2 separate regions of the Homo sapiens genome follow, and region 2 is linked to region 1. Evidence: promoter capture Hi-C in 16 types of primary human blood cells and fetal thymus (Javierre and others, 2016). All regions are on one chromosome and are shown on one strand. The core of a region is centred on a gene start or on the middle of the fragment in contact, and the rest is flanking DNA. Distances in the headings are between cores, read along the strand shown.

Evidence for each region. The method cuts DNA at HindIII sites, captures the fragments that hold promoters and counts their contacts. A CHiCAGO score of 5 or more calls a contact.
Region 2: a fragment that was not itself captured here is called in contact with the fragment with the promoter of ADAMTS5 in region 1 in 1 of 17 cell types (M2 macrophages); the score reaches 5.3 in M2 macrophages.

Annotation. Positions count from the first base shown.
Region 1 is chr21:26,964,453-26,970,014 of GRCh38, forward strand. It overlaps ADAMTS5 (ADAM metallopeptidase with thrombospondin type 1 motif 5), which reads right to left and starts at 2,636. Exons shown (of 8, transcript NM_007038.5): 1 at 836-2,636. The coding sequence starts at 1,939. LOC124905050 reads right to left here. Exons shown (of 3, transcript XM_047441063.1): 2 at 2,992-3,518; 3 at 2,204-2,632. The coding sequence ends at 2,204. The HindIII fragment of the contact is 6,499 bases long and covers 1-4,836 here.
Region 2 is chr21:26,878,852-26,884,413 of GRCh38, forward strand. The region is part of intron 1 of LOC105372760 (a long non-coding RNA gene); the gene reads left to right. Among named protein-coding and RNA genes, the nearest start is that of ADAMTS1, 36 kb to the left of the region's middle. The HindIII fragment of the contact is 1,589 bases long and covers 1,327-2,915 here.

The sequences.
Region 1 (5,562 bases), core at 1,386-3,885:
TTCTGTCTTGACTCTTCGCCCAGATCTTCTGCACTGGGGCTTCGGAAACATATTCATCCAAAACCCAAACACGCAAACGGGATGTGACCCTCCCTAGGCGGCGGAGTTGGCCTGGGCAGTGCTTGCGACGCACTGGTCGACTAAGCAAAGGAGTTGTTAAGGAACCTCACAAGTTTGTCCTCTCATCTGATTGGGTCTCTGTACCCTGCTGGCCCGCCCACATTCCTTCCTTCCCAGGAACTGAGATTCCAAGGTGGACATGTAAGAACTCCATTAGGAATCCAACCTGGAAAAAGAGTCCTTGAGAAAGTTTTCTCATCCTCTGTGTAACAGAAGGGATTCTAGTAAAAAGGTGTGGACACTTACAAAAGAAGGTCATCGGATAACAGTGAGTACCGTGAGTGAACCATCCAGCCCTTTCCATTAGGTGGGACAAGGTTATATTTTATTTTCACTGGAAAGAAGAAGACCCATGATCCCAAAGGCAACTTTGTTTTCCTTCCTTTTCCCCATTTAACTGTATCATTTCCCCAAGCATCCTTGTGCCTTCTTATGTTTACGTTCCTATGCCACAACACCTCAGACTAGATGACATGCAGCACTACTGGGTCTTCATCATCACCTAAGCAAGTCTTGGCATTTAAGGCAAAAATTTCTGCGGGGCTAACGTGAATACAGGAGCAGAGTTGAAGGCTGGTTGGATTTCCTGCAAGAAGCAGTTAAACACATCCACAGCTGCAGGAGGTTTGAGGGAGAAGCAAAGCCACCAGCAAGATTCCCTTCTACCTACCTCCTGATATCAGCGCTGGGACCCCCGCATCCCGGCTGGACCTACCTCCCGAGTAAACAGGATAGCTGCATCGTAGTGCTCCTCATGGTCATCTCCCAGCTGGTTGTGTTGGTGCTGCCACTTGCAAAAGTTCTTGAGTGTGGTGGCAGCGTTCTTGCTCACTTCCAGGCTCTTGTCCTTGTCGCCTAGCACCACCACCTTCACCACGGCCAGGCGGATGTGGTTCTCGATGCTAGCATGGCTGTACAGCCTATTGGCGATGGAGGCCAGGGTCAGCAGGTAATGCTGCAGGCCCCGGCCATACAACCGCGCCATGGACGCGTCAGCCACCAGAAGCAGCTCCACCTGGCGGGCCCGGGAGATGGAGCGGCGCCGCCGCCGCCACCACGTCTGCGGTCCTGAGCCCCCAGCGGGCGAGAGAGCGGACTGGTCCAAGAGCTGCGAGGCCAGTGCTGCGCGTCCGCTCGGGTTGCTGTGCGCCGGAGCATGCTCGTGGGCCTCCGGTGTGGACGCGGGGGTTTCGCAGCTGGCGCGCGGCGGCAGGGCCTCGAAGCTGAAGCCCTCGCGGGTGTAGACGTGCAGGATCCGTGCGGACCCATCCCCGTACACGCGCCCCTTTTCTTCCTCCGCCCAGGGTCCGCGCAGCAGTGGCTTTAGGGTGTAGCGCGCGTGCTTGACCGCGAAGAAGCCGTCGAGACCCCCACAGAGGTCAAAGACAGCCAGAGAGCGGGGACTACCGTCCACTGTGCCCCGATAGAAGCAGTGGCTCCGGTGGCGCCAGGGCGCACTCGTCCCGCCTCCTGCGGGCACGAAGCCAGCAATGCCCACCGAACCATCTCGCTCCAGGTCCAAGAGGAACCTCCGGCCGCCCGCGTAGACGAGGTAGCCCACCTTGCCGCCGCCGGAGTAGAGTTGGTCGATGTTCTGCACCAGCCCCTTGCTCCTGCGCCGCTGCGCCAGGGGGTGCGGGTGGCCGGGAGGCTCGGCTCGCTCCTGCACCTCCTCCCCCTGCCGCCGGCGGGGCTGGGCGGCTGCTGCAGCAGTCGGAGGCTGCCCGGCTTTATCCTGGGCAGGTGTCGCGGCGGGGCCGACCGCGGCCAGGGGCAGGCGGAACGCGCACAGCAGCAGGGACGCCCACCCGAGCAGCATAGTGCGCTGCCCGCGGGGAGGGGCTGCGCGACTGGGACTTTATGGGTATTTGTTATTTGCTATGAAGTTAACGGGGCGGGGGATGGGGACACACACACACTTGCTTGCAGGATTGAGTCAAGTGTCGGAGGGAGGGGGGCCCGGCAGCAGCGCCAGCCTGTCCGGGCTGCGGTGCCAGCGTGCGAACTTTTCTTTGTTGCTTGGGAAAATGTTTGGATTCGTGCTCCAGAAAGAGGTGGGGTGGGGGGGGGGGGAAAGAAAAGATTAAAAAAAAAAAGTCGGATAGTGGAGATTCAGCAAATACGGGAAAAGGAAAAAAACAAAAACCAAAAAACCACCAAATGCAGGCACGATCGCTGTTTCAAGAAAAGTAAGGAAAGGTACCGCGCACCGGGCTGGCAACTGGTGCGCGCAGCCTCCCGCCCCCGCGCTGCGCTGGACAAGCCGGCTGTGGAGGTTCCAAGCTCCGGGGCCCACTTCCTTTCTTATTTTGTGGGTTTCCTTGGCTCTGCTGGGACCAGGAGGAAGGGAAGAAAGAGAGGGGAAAAAGCCGTAAAAATTAAAACAAAAATGCAGGGGGGCAGCCTGAGGCGAGCTGGTGAAGCGGCGTGTCTGTGTCCCTTCGGCTGCGGTCTCCTCCTGCCCGCCGTCATCCCCAGTCGGCAGCTGCGAGCGCCGAGAGCAGCGCGAGCGCTGTGAAGATGCGAGGAGGTGGAACAATGAATTTATAGCGGCATGCCATCCTGCAATGGCAATTTCAACAGTTCGTCACTGCACGCTGCCTCTTAAAGGGAGAGCTTCCCCCACCACTCCCACCCTTCCCAGTCCGCGCCTAATCAGATGGGGGAGGGCAAAAGAGGAGGGTGATCGAGGAAAGGGAGACGAAGTAGGAGGAAGGGACTGGGACCCGGCGAGGTGGTAGGAGGGGAGAGGGGAAAATAAAAAGTAATGGGGCAAGAAAAACAGATTTCCTTGGCCACTTTTAAAGCCACAGCGGCTCCGGGTCTGTCTGATATTTCACAACCAATTGGGGTTGGCTAACCTTGGCTTACCTCATCTCCTGAACGGGTGTTTTGGTTAAAGTTATTGAGACGTTTCAAGTCTCTCCCTGCCTCCTTCTTGCCTGCTTTTCTCGCCCTCGGTGGGAAGTTCCTGCCGCAAGTTTTTCCCCTTTGCACACCCGTGCGCTCTGGCCTCGCAGACCGTGCAACTCCATCCACCAGCCAGAGCTTTTCAGCTTCCCGTGCGTCCCCTAACCACCGCGTTCCCTTCGCTTCCTCCCCTCCGTCCCGGCACCCGGTTTCCTCCCTCCCCATTCTCCAGCCTCTTGATGCTTTGACGCTCGCCGGATTCGGGCTCCGGGTGACTAACTTCTCCCGGCCACCAGCAGAGCGGCTGGACAGCCAGAGAGCCCAGGGCGCTTCCTGGCGCGCTGCGGTACCCCGGGGCGAGAACGCCCGCCGCTTGGGAACTCCGCAGCTTTGTGTGCGAACGGCGGGCTCCCAGCTTTCTCCAGCACGCCTTTCGTCAGGGTCCACAATCTGTCCCTTACTCCCAGCCCACTGGAACTTCCTTTGCTCTAAAAAGGCAGAGCGAGAAAGAGTTAACTCTTAGAGGGAATTCCGCTCATTTTTTTTCCCTGAAAGATTTTAAAATTTTGCGCTCATACTTTTATTTTTTGCTTAAATGATACTTTAATAATAAATTCCTATATCTGTTTTTGTCTCTTCTAAAGCAACCACTTATCGCCATAGGCCTTGACCTACCTTCATTCTCAGAAATTCCTTTTAGAAGAAAAAGAATACTTTTGGCGGAAGGAAGATTGGTGCTTATTAGTACGCGGGTGACATTATCACTGCTACTCGTTTCCTCTGACCTCTTTGTTTCCTCTAATTATCATTCTAAGAAGGGAGAAGGAAAACCCGACGACTTATGGTTAGAAGGTCTACCTTCTACTGTAGGGGTAAGAGCTCCCTCCATGCCCAAATTATTCTTCAGGCTAATTAACTAATGCACCAGTGAAAAATGAATGTGGTGTAATTTGTACATTTCCATCTTTTTCTACGTTTAACTTTGGCTACGCTGGGGATAGCAGGGCGGGTGCCTTAATGGGGCCCCAAGCTGATCGCTTTCTCTGGGAGGGAACCATGAGGGTCCAGAGCTTGATGGAGGTTCTTAGAGTGGCAATAATCCTCTGGAAGGAATTTCAGAATTGCCCGGCAACAATACCCATTGCCGTGTGCCTGGGAACACCCTCTGGAGTCTTGTGAGGGGCAGATGTATCATCTTGTTTTAACTTATAAATAAAGAAATCACTGGGGCCTTAGGGACACCCAACAGCCCCTGATAGATTCTGAAATACATCAGGACCAGGGAGGAAGTTACTATTGCTGAAGGCCATTGCTTTATAATTCCACAATGCCTCAGCCTCTCAGTGGCCAGTTGACCCAGGCCAATGCTAACAGCTGGATGGGTCAGAATAGGAGGTTCCAGCCATTTTCTCTATCCCACCAAGGCCTTTGAGCCTTGCATTAGCCGTTCTCTTTTGTGGTCCTTGCTTTGCACCTACAAATAGCAAACTTTTATCTTTTTAACCAGTTACAGTGAAAAGGAGTCCAATATTTGGCACTAAACACCATTTCTAATACAACCTTGATTCAATAAATTTAACAATTTTGTCATTGTTCATGCCAAAGAATCATTTTAATAGGCATTTTAGGTGACAGTGGTTAAAATTTGTTAATTACAATTATTTTCATTCACAGATAGATTTTGTTATTTAGGATTTCAGGAAATTCCAACAGATTCTCTTTTCTTTGATGGTCTTGAACTCATAACCTCCAGGGATTCTCCCACCTGATGAGACACAGTGACGGCTTGAATTTTCTTCTTAATGAAGCTTTTCTCCTCTTTCACAAACACCGTGCTGAATCCTGAATCTGAATATTATGCCTTTAAGTTTAATTATATAGTGACATTTGTACTCAGTTTATTCAAATATTTAAAAATACATGGGGAGAACAGGATAGACACAGATAAAGTTCCAAACATGAATATCAAGCACAGAATATTTACTAGAGGTATATATTCACAAGGAAATAAATACTAAATCTTATGAATACAATGAATAAATTCTTACATCTCAGAAAATTTCTACTTCGATATAATTTTTTTTTTAGAAAGTAACTTGGACACTTTGGAAACTTCATTTGGTAGTATTTTTAAAACATTACACTAGTGGATTAGGATGAGCTGCTACGTTGTGGAAAAAATTACTATCTGTCACTCTAAGGAAGTAATTTGCACTGGATAAAAGTAGCTGAACTTTTTATTTTTACAGTAGAAAGGAAAAATATATTAGCAATCATGTTTAAGCAGAATAACTGCTACTCATTCAAAGTAACAGTTTTATTTGTGCACATTTAATGAGAAATTTCCACTGAATTTATAGAGTATATGATCACAAATACCATGATAGATGATTTTACATTTCCTAAAAGGAAGAAGGACTTACTACTCCAGAATGTTATAATTTATCTTGGAGATCAGGTAGGGCAACTTTCTCCATCTAACTGTGAAAAGCTGAGACCCAGAGGCCAAAATGGCTTGCCTGTGGATAAAAA
Region 2 (5,562 bases), core at 871-3,370, 86 kb before region 1:
AAAGTAGTACACAATTTTAGTGTGAAGTCTAATGTGGAAGTCAGACCAATGAACTTGGGGGAAAGCCTCAACTCATTTCTGAGGCTGCATTTCCCAGTTTGTGAAAGAAGAAAAACCAAATATATTGTACTTCTTAAATATGCTATGAAGACAAATCCATGTGGGTATTTAAGTGATTCTGGAGGATTCTATTTAGGTATAAACAACAAATTAACTAATTTGCTGCATTTTGTGGACAACAAACAAATAGTACTTTATTATGGATGCTGCATGTTTTCCCCATTATTGGAAGTGATGGTTTCTCGATATACTAACAAAATAGAGAAGGCAATAAGATTTGCACGCTTTACATATGCGTTTATTTTTCAATTAATAGCTGATGTTTAAAGCTAATAATGACTCTGAGAAGTACAGTTTTTCCTGTTTGTGGACATTTATGTTGATTCCCAAACAGAACTGGCTTCCACTATATGGAGAGCAATCGCACAACATTGATTGGCTTTAAATTATTGTCAATGTACACACACTAAAGTGGGCACAGTATACTTTCAGAGGATACAACCTTTAAAACAAATTTGTGTTTCATCATACCATGTGGCAGACAGTAAATAATCTTTTTTTTTTTTTTTTTTTTTTTGAGACGGAGTCTTGCCCTGTCACCCAGGCTGGAGTACAATGGTGAGATCTTGGCTCACAGCAACTTTTGCCTCCCAGGTTAAAGCGAATCTCCTGTCTCAGCCTCCCGAGTAGCTGGGATTACAGGCATGTGCCACCACACCCAGCTAATTTTTTTTTTGTATCTTTAGTAGAGATGGGGTTTCACCGTGTTGGCCAGGCTGGTCTCAAACTTCCGACCTCAGGCTATCTGCCCGCCTCGGCCTCCCAAAGGGCTGGGATTACAGGTGTCAGCCACCACGCCCAGCCAGTAAATAATCTTAAAGCTTAAATAAACTCAGTGAACATGTTGTAGTATTGTGTGGAATGTATTCATTTATATCATTGATGAATTCTAGATTTGTACAGCTTCTTTTCTCCAGTTACTCCTTTCTCACACTGAAGCAGAATTTCTCAAAATGGGTGGGTTCAGGAGGGAAGCACTGAACCACTGGTGAACCATGGGGTGAAGTCAGTGCGTGGGTTCAGAAGGAAGCATAGGTACCATTTCTCAAAAAGTATCCTTGCCTTTGGTGGATTACTATCTGTAATTCACTGTCATAAATTCTTAAGTACATGACCAGAGTGGTTTTGCTTCAGTAAGACAACCTGACTTCTACATGGTAAACTCCTGCTAACCCAGCTCTTCAATCAGACCCAGTGGGCTTCATAAGCTTTCTCTTGAGAATCTTTAGCCATGGCTCTGTCTGATTACAAGTCTTCTTGCCGGCTATCTCAACATGTTCAATACATTATTTTCTCTGTTTATCTTGCATTCGCTCTCATTGTCTTTTGCTTTACCTCTCCATTGGCCTTAGCTATGACCCGTGAAATCTTGGAAGGCTCTTCCACCCCACTCTTGTCTGATGCTAGCTGCAGCAACCACCTCTTTCCTGGAATCCTTGAATTAACCCCTTTCATTTTGACACTTGTGCCACATCCAACAAGATTTAAGATAATTTGGAAAAGCAAACATAACAAAAGGCAGAGCAATTTGGAATGAAAACAAAAACAGAACAGAGGTCACCAGCAAAGAGTAAAAAGAGTAAACATGACCAAATACCTGAGATTATTTAATTATCATAATTGGGCATGAAGTTTGATTTGCCTGGAAGCAAAGACATTTTTTAGTTACAAAATTTAAATGATACCAATTCACTTAACTTTTTTTTTTTTGCATGTAAAAGAGGTGCTCTCATAAGGTACATTAAAAATCAATGAAAAACTACTATGGTTTTACCAAAAATAGCTCTAAAATTGTGTTTAAAGAGATGATGTTTTTACTGACCCAAGAGCTGAATATTATATTATAAATTTATAAAATATTTCTTATGGATACTGTATTAATATTTTTTAGATTTCCTATTGTTCAATGATCTACTTAATTATGGGAATGGGACTTTGAGAATCTAGGTGAATGGGTGGATAATATGCCAAATAGGCTCTTCAATGAATGACCTGTCAATGGTAGATCCTGGGTGACAGTCAATAATATTTTCCATTTCTAACCTAAAGCACAAAGATCCTTGTTGTTGGTCAAATTCAGAACTATAGTTTTAAAAACCCCAGATGTTAGTGTAAGTAATTTTATTATTTTGCTGTAGAATTTTGAGAGCAGATTTTATACTTCACCTGAATTTCAAGCCACTTTTTCGAGATACGAGTAAGCAAAGCAGAGGACATTTGTTAGAGCTAATATATATATTTTTTCAGAATGTGTAAATGTAATTGATGGAGTTAGATTGATGAGACCTAGGTTTGGCTTGAGCTCCACTGCTTGCAAATCATGCGGCATTAGAAAAGCAATTCAATCTTTTCTGGTTGTGTCAATCAATGACATAGATCCTCTAAGCAACCGTGGGAGCATTAAGTTTTTTAAAAGGGAAACAGTAGGTATAATTCAAAGTCAAACTTTACATGAATGTAAGTGCTGGGGTTTATATTGAGGTTGGAGAATATAATGGATGAGATTGGTGGGGGTTGAATCCCACGATTCAAAAAACTCAAGGAAACTTCACAGCTTCTGCTTTATTACAGAAGACAAGTGAAAAGTGTCTCTATCTAAATAAACTGTGCAGTTAATGTGGACAACTAAGAGCATAAACTTAATATGCTAAAGTTCAATTAAAACACACACTGAATTTCCAGCGTTTCAATTTTAATGTTATGTAATAACAAGACCACCCAAAAGGTGGCACTAAAAAGCAGATATGTGACCTCCAAGTAAGTAGAATTTGGTGAGATAAAAGAAATGGTAGAGAAGCTTTAGTCTTCTTTTAGGTTTAAATACTTAAATTGCTTCTTAGTAACTTGTAAATATTAAGCTGTCGATATTTTGAAGAAAAGCTGCTATTTTCAATCCAACTTAAAGCATTTGAAATTCATTTGTCTTGCAGCTATGTATATTTAATTTAATATCTTTCAGCCTACCAAACTAGTGATCTTTTTTTGTGTGTAATCATCAGAGACATTGGCATATGCGGGCTAATCTGATTTTCTTTGGAGTCATGCTTGTACCATAAGTTTTGAATGAACAGATGCCCTTATCTGAATCCAACTTCACACTACTGTGTGCCTCAGGGTTACAGAAAATAGACTGTTTAATGAATGACCTGTCAATGGCAGATCCTGGGTGACAGTCAATAATATTTTCCATTTCTAACCTAAAGCAGAGAGATCCTTATTGTTGGTCAAATTCAAAACTGTGGTTTTGAAAACACGAGACGTTAGTGTAAGTGGGTAATTTTGCTATTTTGTTGTGGGATTTTGAGAGCACATTCTGTACCTCACCTAGAATTCAAGCCGCTTTATCAAGATGGTAAGTAAGCAAAGCAGAGGACATTTATTAGAGCTATTTTTTTTTCAGAATGGGTAAATGTAATTTGATGGAATTAGAATTATGAGACCTAAGTTTGATTTGAATAGAAGCTGTGAAGTTTCCTTATTAGAGTTTTTTGAATCATGGGATTCAACTCCTGCCAACCATATCCATTATATCCCCTCCCCCACTATAAATCCCAGCACTTACATTCATATTGACTTTGAATTATACCTACTCTTTCCCTTTTAAAACACTTAAAAATCAGTAGGCTCCTATGGCTGCTTAGAGGACCTATATCATTGATTGACACAACCAGAAAAAATTAAACTACTTTTCTAATGCCTTAGCATTTTCTAATGCTAGTAGAGAATGTTATGTTCAAACCAATTTTTTTTTTTTTTTTTTGCCTGCAATCCCAGCACTTTGGGAGGCTGACGTGGGTGGATCATTTGAGCTCAAGAGCTGGAGATCAGCCTGGGCAACATGACGAAACCTGTATCTACAAAAAAATACAAAAACTGCTGCGTGTGGTGGCACATGCCTGTAATCCCAGCTACTTGGGAGACTGAGGCAGGAGAATCACTTGAACCTGGGAGGTGGAGGTTGCAGTGAGCCAAGATTGCTCCACTGCACTCCAGGCTGGGCAACAGAGCAAGACTCCATCTCAAAACAAAAACAAAAACAAAAACTATCTGGGTCCGGTGGCTTGTGCCTATGTTCCCATGTTCCCAGCTACTCCAGCAGCTGAGGCCAGAGGATGGCTTGAGCCCTTGGGAGGCAGAGGTTGCAGTGAGCTGGGATCATGCCACTCCAGCCTGGGTGACAGAGTGAGAATCTGTCAAAAAAAAAAAAAAGAATATAATGCATTCATATTGACATATTTTACTTCAAACTGATAGAATTTTACAGAATTTTCTATGAAAAGTTTATCAGTAGCTACACATTCTAATAATGTATTAATATCACTGAATATCAGGTCTAAAGTAGTAGTTGTTTTATAGTAACAGTAAAAAAAGAATGCTACTATAAAGGTTAACAGTGAATATATTTCAGTAAATAAAACAATATGCTACCTTTCTGAGGTTATTTGGGAGATGCAACAAATTGTGCTCCATTTACCCATTCAGCTTCAATTAAGAAACGTAATAAATTAGTTCACGTACAGAGAATAAAATATAATCACCCTTATTACAGTCAAAATTGAAATTAGAGAATGTGTTTTGTATCTGGGAGCATGTGGACTTCTGCACCGAAGGCCTGATTTATATAGCCTTATTCACCTTGTCACAGCAGTGCTTGACTGGGCAGGCTCTACCTATGAAAACAGAAGTCACCCACAGAGAAGTAAAGTAGAACATGGGAGCAGCTGTTTCTTAAGAGAAACAGCGAAGGAAGATGTGGGTTCCACTTGCCCAGGTCTTCCTTCTAACATCACCTGTGAGATAAGCCCCTCCCAGTTATATAAACTATTTGGAAATGAGTGAGAAAGCAAGGGAAGCTGGGAGTATGAAGGAATATTTTCCACAGAGAGGAAAACACAAGGAATAAAGAAGTACTTCCTACCCATGCACGCATGGTCTTTCTAATGAAGGGGTTCTTGTCCATTATGAAACAGCCTTGAGTATTCCCTGATGACACAGTGCTGGAGCACAAGGGAAGTTTATCTTGCACAATGCCTGTTATTTTAGAATTCTCTCTAGGAGAATGAAAAGGCACTTGAAGCAGTGAAACAGCAAAACCAGTGCTATGGTCTGAACGGTTTGTTTGTTTTCCTACTCCCCTAAATTCATACATTGAAATCTGATTTCCAACATGAAAGCATTAGATGGTGAGGCCTTGGGGATGTGATTAGGTCATGAGGGCTCCACCTTCACGAATGGGATTAGCACCCTTATAAAAGAGACCCCAGAGAGCTAGCTAGCCCCTTTCACCATGTGAGGTTACAATGAAAAGATGTCTGTCTATGCAGAACAGAGTCCTCACCAGATACTGAATCTCCCGGTGCCTCGATCTTGGACTTCCCAGCTCCATAACTGTGAGAAATAAATTTATGTTGTTTATATGCTACTCAGACTTAGGTATTTTTG